2 separate regions of the Homo sapiens genome follow, and region 2 is linked to region 1. The links are contacts of gene promoters, found by promoter capture Hi-C in blood cells and fetal thymus (Javierre and others, 2016). All regions are on one chromosome and are shown on one strand. The core of a region is centred on a gene start or on the middle of the fragment in contact, and the rest is flanking DNA. Distances in the headings are between cores, read along the strand shown. Region 1 holds the start of OR10D3 (olfactory receptor family 10 subfamily D member 3). Region 2 has its middle 29 kb from the start of OR10G7.

Region 1 (3,311 bases), core at 402-2,901:
TTGGTTATGCAGTAAGCAATAGAAACTTTTACATACGACTCTTCATATTTTCTATTTTTAGTCAGTTTTCACAAATTAATAAGCATTTGATAAATTATTTTGACAAATCATTTGAATATCTTGGCAAATGTTGTAATATCTCTTTTCATTCTGCTTAATCCATGTGCTTCTGTCATCCTTTCATTCCTCATGTTTATATGTGCCTTCTCACTTTTTTCAAGAATCATTTTTAAAGAAGTACTTCTATTTTCTTAGTCTTTTCAAAGAGCCAAATTTAGCATTGCTGACCTCTTTTCTTTTGTTTTCTCTACTTTATTATTTCAGGTTTTTACATATTTTTCAGTTCTTTGACAACTCTGTAACTGTTACGTTACATGAAAGAGGAATAATTTCCAGATTACAAATGTCTGGAATCTCAAAGGGCAAGGTTCTTGACTCCTTTCACAGAAGAGAAGGTCAAGATTAAGGAAATTTGTCTTATTCTTGGTTGTATAGGTTATTAATTAATGTTTGTTGAATAATACTTTGATATAATTCTGGGAATATCATCAGGAGAACTATTTCTGGTTCAGGAAATTCAGCTGTGCCAATTGACAAATGTTTGTTGGAGTCTAGGAAAAGAAATTCTATTTCTATATCAAAATATTAGAAACCATAGTCTGAAAAGTAGAAGAACTATGTTAGTTCACTAGGGCTGCCATAACAAAACAGAATATACTAGGTGACACAAACAACAGGAATTTTTTTTCTCGCAGTTCTGCAGATTGTAAAATTCAAGATCAAGGTTGCACAGGTTTTGCAGCAGGGTTTGGTTTCTGGGGCTTAGAGATGGGGCTGTCTTCTTGCTGTGTTCTCACATGGAGAGATAAAGGGAGAGAAAAAGACAGGCAGAGAGAGAGAGAGAAAGAGACAGAGAGAGAGATCTGATGTCTCTCCTTTTACAAAGATACCAGTTCTATTGCATCAGGGCTTCATCCTTATGGTCTCATTTAACTTTATTCACCTTCTTAAAGACCCTACTTCCAATACAGTTACGTGGATTGGGTGTGTTAAGAGTTTCAACACGAATTTTTGAAGGAACACAATTCAGTTCATGGCAAGAACTATGAAGAAACTGAGATTAAAATATTTAAAATTGGATATTTTTAAAAGTCTGAGATATATGGTTGTTAGGTTATTTCTCATTCCGATAATGTATCCTGAAACTGGGTAACTGGTTTCTACATATGTCCTAGGATTGGGCTATACCATTCACCTTTTTTCTCCTTTCCCAGGGTCAATCTTAGAGGTAGAAAATAGAGATTTGGCTCCCCCTTGTTCCTATCCAGCACTGTCACAGTGGGAAACATCACCATATTCTATTTCAACTAGACAGTTTACTCACTTCTAATTACTCCCTTTGCTCAACAACCTCCTTGAATAGGACTCATTCAGGAATGGGGTCCCAAAGGCTCCAAAGATATTTAAATTTCCACGTAGGAGAAAGCAATGTAGATATCAGTGTCTTGGAAGATGTCTGTGCAGAAGACAGAGACGCACGCTGCTGCATGTCATTTAGTCAGAGTTTATTTGGCTAAGAAGAAAGCATTCCAGATCATGGGTGGAGATCCCTAACCTCTAATATGCCAAAGGAAAATTTGGACTAAAAATCCTATACAAACAGATGATTAAATGATCATACTTTCTCTTTGTAAGTTACATAAGTGCCATCTTTGCCTCTTTCTCTCTCTTTCTTTCTCTCTCTCTTTCTCTCTCTCTTTCTCTCTCTTTCTCTTTCTTTCTCTTTTTTTCTCTTTCTTTTTTTTTCTTTCTTTCCCCTTCCTTCCTTCCCTCCCTCCCTCCCTGCCTCCTTCCCTCCTTCCCTCCTTCCCTCCCTCCCTCCCTCCCTGAGTCTCACTCTGTTGGCCAGGCTGAAGTGCAGTGGCACGATCTCAGCTCACTGCAACCTCCACCTCCCGGGTTCAAGCAATTCTCCTGCCTTAGTCTCCAGAGTAGCTGAAATTATAGGGGCCCTCACCTCTTTTTTCACTCCTCTTTTATGCTTTGTGTATCCAATGGAGAGGAAAATTTGGAGTCCTCAGTTTACAAAGTATTCTCAGAATTCAGAATGAACAGAGAGCATGGATCTACTGGCCAGAAGAATAGATCTTATTTGCTTGGTTTATCTTTGAGCCCATTGTGCTGGCCCATCAGCTCACAAACCCCATTCTTGTTATTTCACTTTACAATCAGGAATTTGGACTTGATTTTATATTATTAAAGTAACAGAAACTCTAAATGAGCCCATATGTGGATATCTTCATTTGATTCTTTCTTTGATGTATGACAGCCAGGACATTTTTGGAAGCAGTATAGATTATATGTAGCACTTGTCTTGGGTCTGATTGCTTTTTGGAATGTAGTGTAGAGCTTCTTCTGGAGTGCAGGTGACATGATTGTAAACAGAGAAATTCCAAATATACAGGAAATGGGCAAAAGAGAAACAGGTAGATGATCAAGTTGCTTTAGAAGACTGTGAGGAGAAATTACTATCTGATAGTACCACACAGATCCTTGCACAAGAGGAATGATATCCAATTCTTGCCAGGCATTGAGTGAGTTATCTTATTTCCTTCATCAAACGTTTATTGAAAAAGGCACTGTTCTTTGCACTGAGAGTATAATCGTAAACACAAAAAATATTTACTCTCCTAGATGTTATATTTGTGTGTGTGTGGGGAGGTAGCTGGATATATATTGATTTTCCATTGCTTACTAAGGAGGAGGAGGAACAACATTTTAAGAGCCTGGTGATGTCCAAATGAAAAACATGGTTAATACCGGGGTAAGATTTGACAAGGCCAGTAATGCCGTGATCTATCACAGATGGATCCATCCAGACCCGGGGGAAAGACTGATGTTTAAAAAGAAAAAAAAAGAATGTAGATGCCTAGTTCTACCAAGAACTAGCTGCCTTAATTTAGGAGAGTCACCTAGCCTTCCTACTGCTCAAATGTAATCTTTTCTGTAGACCTCCTCAAAAAGTGACTGCCAGGATTAGATGAACGGAGATCATGTTGTATAAGTGTTTTGAACTGCAAAGCAGGGATCAACCTTTATGATTCCCTTAAAAAACGTAGACATAAAATCTAACGTTGTTGCTAATAATGGCTTACAAATATGATGATTCCCGAATTGTGGTTCATATCTCCAGTGATATAAAAAAGCCCTCAAATAATCCTGACATTTCACATCCTTCTACCCCGGGAGGAGGAGCATGTGTTTGGATGGATCCTGCCCTCTCTTTAAAAATCTTTGCTCTAACAAGGTCA
Region 2 (3,192 bases), core at 668-3,167, 110 kb before region 1:
TCTAGGTGTCTAACGTTCTGACTCATTCTTTCCAATCTTACCTAAATATGAGGAAAAATTATGAAATGTGGGCAGAAAGAATGGAAAGTTGAGTGCTAAATCAATTTTATTAAGCCACAGAAAAGGAATATTTCCACAGTGAGACAGGATGGTATAACACGGTGGTTTTGAATAAGAGGAAAGGAGAAATGGATGAATGTAGTGAAAAAAATCTTACAGAAATGATATAAACTATTTCAGGGGATAAAAGCATTATGAAACAATTTCGTTCTATCTATTGTAACTTCCTATATGGCACTCTTTGTTCAGCTCCTGCTTCCCCATTTAATGAACTAATTTAAATTACATCCAAAGTAGATTATGTGTTGAAGTGGGAAAAGTTCCCTTAGCCCCCTCACAGGGTGTGCGAAGGGGGTGTGGCTCGCTTCTACGGTGCCCAGCTGCTCAAACCTCTAGGGGGAGCTTGCAGACCGGCAGGCTGTGGGGCTCCGACCTCATGGCAGCGTCTAAGGGTGGATGTTTACAGCTGAAGCTCCAGTGGGCGTGTGTTACAGTGCGCTCTTTCAGTTTAGCCGTCCGTTGGCAGCTTGTGTTAATCAGCTTAATTAGACCCTCTGCCTTATAGCAAGGGTGGAGGACTCTCTGTATCCCGGGGTTCTTGCCTTGGTGTACTAGAAGAATCAGATCACATATGGGCTTGGAGAATGAGTGCCAAATTTTATTGAATGGTGGAAATAGCTCTCAGCAGACGGATGGGGAGCCAGAAGGGGAGCGGGAAGGTGGTTTTCCCATGGAGTCAGCTCAGCGGCGTGACTCTCCTCTGACAGCTCCAGCTAAACTCCGCTTCATTCCACTGGTCAATGGCCTGCCGGCGTCTGCTGGTGCCGTTCGGTGTGCTCTTCAACCGAAGTGTTCCTCTTGATGTCTAGCCGCTTCTGTGTTCTCCTGCTGATGTGTTTCTCACGATGTCCAGCTGCTGTGTCCGTGCGCACTAGGGTCTCAGGGTTTTTATAGGCACAGGATGGGGACATGGTGGGCCAGGGTGGTCTTGGGAAATGCAACATTTGGACCTGAAAGCAGGAGTGCCTGTTCTCCCCTAGTTCCATGGGCACAGGTCCAGGGGTGGAGCCCTCCCCAGGGACCCGCCGTTCTCCTCCCAGCCCTTCCTTGCCCCCTCCCATATCAGTACTGTGCAGAAAAATTGAATTATGAAATTATAGTGAAAAGGTCATTACATGTTAGCCAGTTCACATTTTCTCCCAGTGGAGAACCCACTCTGCTTGGTCCCTCATGTCTATTTAGCTACCTTCCGTAGAGCAGAAATCTTACACCGCCAGCATAGTTTGTGTCACAGCTATCATATTCACACACCCTACTTCATGTTATGGAATAAAATGGAGCCCTAACCAAATTTGTTTAATTATACAAAAATAAAGTTTAGTTACTTTTTTGAGGTTCTTGCTCTGTCTCTCGGGCTAGAATGCAGAGATACAATCCTAGTTCACTGCAGCCTCAACCTTCTGGGCTCAATCGATCCTCTCACCTCAGCCTTCAAGTAGCTGAAACTACAGGCATGTGACACCATGCCCAGCTAAGTTTTATATTTTCTGTAGAGACAAGGTTTTACCATGTTGCCCAGGCTGGTCTCAAACTCCTGGGCTTGAGTGATCCTCCTGCCTTGGCCTCCCAACGTGCTTGGATCACAGGTGTGAGCCACCACACCTGGCCTAGTTCCATTTTTAAAACTGTTTACTTGCTGACATATCTATTTGCTGAAGGTTTTAGAATGCTCTTGTCAGAATAAAGTTTAAAAAAAGGCTGTAATTATTTTTAATAATTTTATTTTTGTAGGTTTTCACATTTTGAATGTTAATTCTTGTTTCAAGAGGATTTCTGATTATAAGTAGAATATCCTTTTGTGACTATGAGAGTGTGTGTGTGTGTGTGTGTGCGTGTGTGTGTGTGACTGTTCTCATGGTGGAGGCGTAGGAAAGTAATAGTAATAGTAGTGTTCTTTCATAGTGGCCTCAGATGAGGAAGTGGGAAAGACTATAAATATCTTTCCTGCTTATAGCATGTTAAAAAGCACTTATGTGTGAATCAGCAAAATACCGGGGTTCTAACAGTGGTTCCACTAATAATAGCCTGTGTGGTCCTGAATAAATTATTTTGTCTCTATGGCTTTAGTTCTAATATTTGTAAAATGAAGAGGTTGAACTAGATCATTTTAGAGGATTCTTTCACATCTACAAATTGTGTACCATTACAGGAATTTTCATTTACAGGAAGATGTTCATGACTTTGGGGAAAAAAAGTGTCTAGAGGTCTTCTAATTTCTGATTTTGGTAGGGCAATGATATTTCCATTTCCAGTAGTACTCTTGATTTTGAAATCCCGCTCTTGAAACAGGACTCCGAATTAAGGTGAAATACCTAACATCGGCCGGCAGATGGCACTATTGGGGCACCGACAACCAGATTCCTCTTCACTAACAAGTAGCTTGCAATAAAGACCCTGGAGCTGAATCAATAGGATAAAGAATGGTTGAAATTATTATTAGAACTGTGTTAGAGAGGTCTGTGATGCTTATGATTTCTGATGGCACCACCATGTGCTATAGTCTTTCTAGAGAGCCAGTTAAATAACCAGTCAATTGCTACCATTTTTACCAATTGGTGTCAGTAGACCCACGACTCTTTGTGTGTAAACAGCCATTGGGTTCACAAGGTGTTTCAGGTAAGAATGGAGAAAGTCTTGATGGAAATACAGCTGGCAAAGGTCACAGGACCCTGCCTGTGTTTACAGACTGCACAAGAACCACTTGGTGCTAAAAGCACGTGGCCGACAGATCGGCTTCAGCACGTACCTTCATCATTCCTCTTCTGAGCTAGCAGAGAAGGGAATTTGACTTCTTTTTTTTTCCTTCCATAGAGCGGGGCTTGAATTCCTTTGGCAGGGAGTCCCCAAAGTTAATTTTAACCCAGGAAATTGTGCATTAATAACGTGATACGAGTTTTGCTTTCAACAAAAGAAAACAGAATAAAAGGAATTTCCCAGCTACAGGATATTCTGACTATTCTGTGACATACAGTTTGATAAAACTTACACTAAATCTGACGGAAAGGTTTGTTTGTGATGGAGAAGGAAAGAGAGAAGTGCTTGTCCTTTTGTCTTATGTAGTCCCGCAGGAAT

What was found. Contacts are between HindIII fragments. The CHiCAGO score rates a contact against its expected background, and 5 or more counts as called.
Region 2: a contact is called between a fragment that was not itself captured here and the fragment with the promoter of OR10D3 in region 1, in 2 of 17 cell types (erythroblasts and megakaryocytes). The highest score is 6.2, in erythroblasts.

Annotation. Positions count from the first base shown.
Region 1 is chr11:124,181,694-124,185,004 of GRCh38, forward strand. OR10D3 (olfactory receptor family 10 subfamily D member 3) reads left to right here and starts at 1,652. Exons shown (of 2, transcript NM_001355213.3): 1 at 1,652-1,690. The HindIII fragment of the contact is 5,579 bases long and covers 1-3,311 here.
Region 2 is chr11:124,069,087-124,072,278 of GRCh38, forward strand. No RefSeq gene overlaps it. Among named protein-coding and RNA genes, the nearest start is that of OR10G7, 29 kb to the left of the region's middle. The HindIII fragment of the contact is 5,328 bases long and covers 1-3,192 here.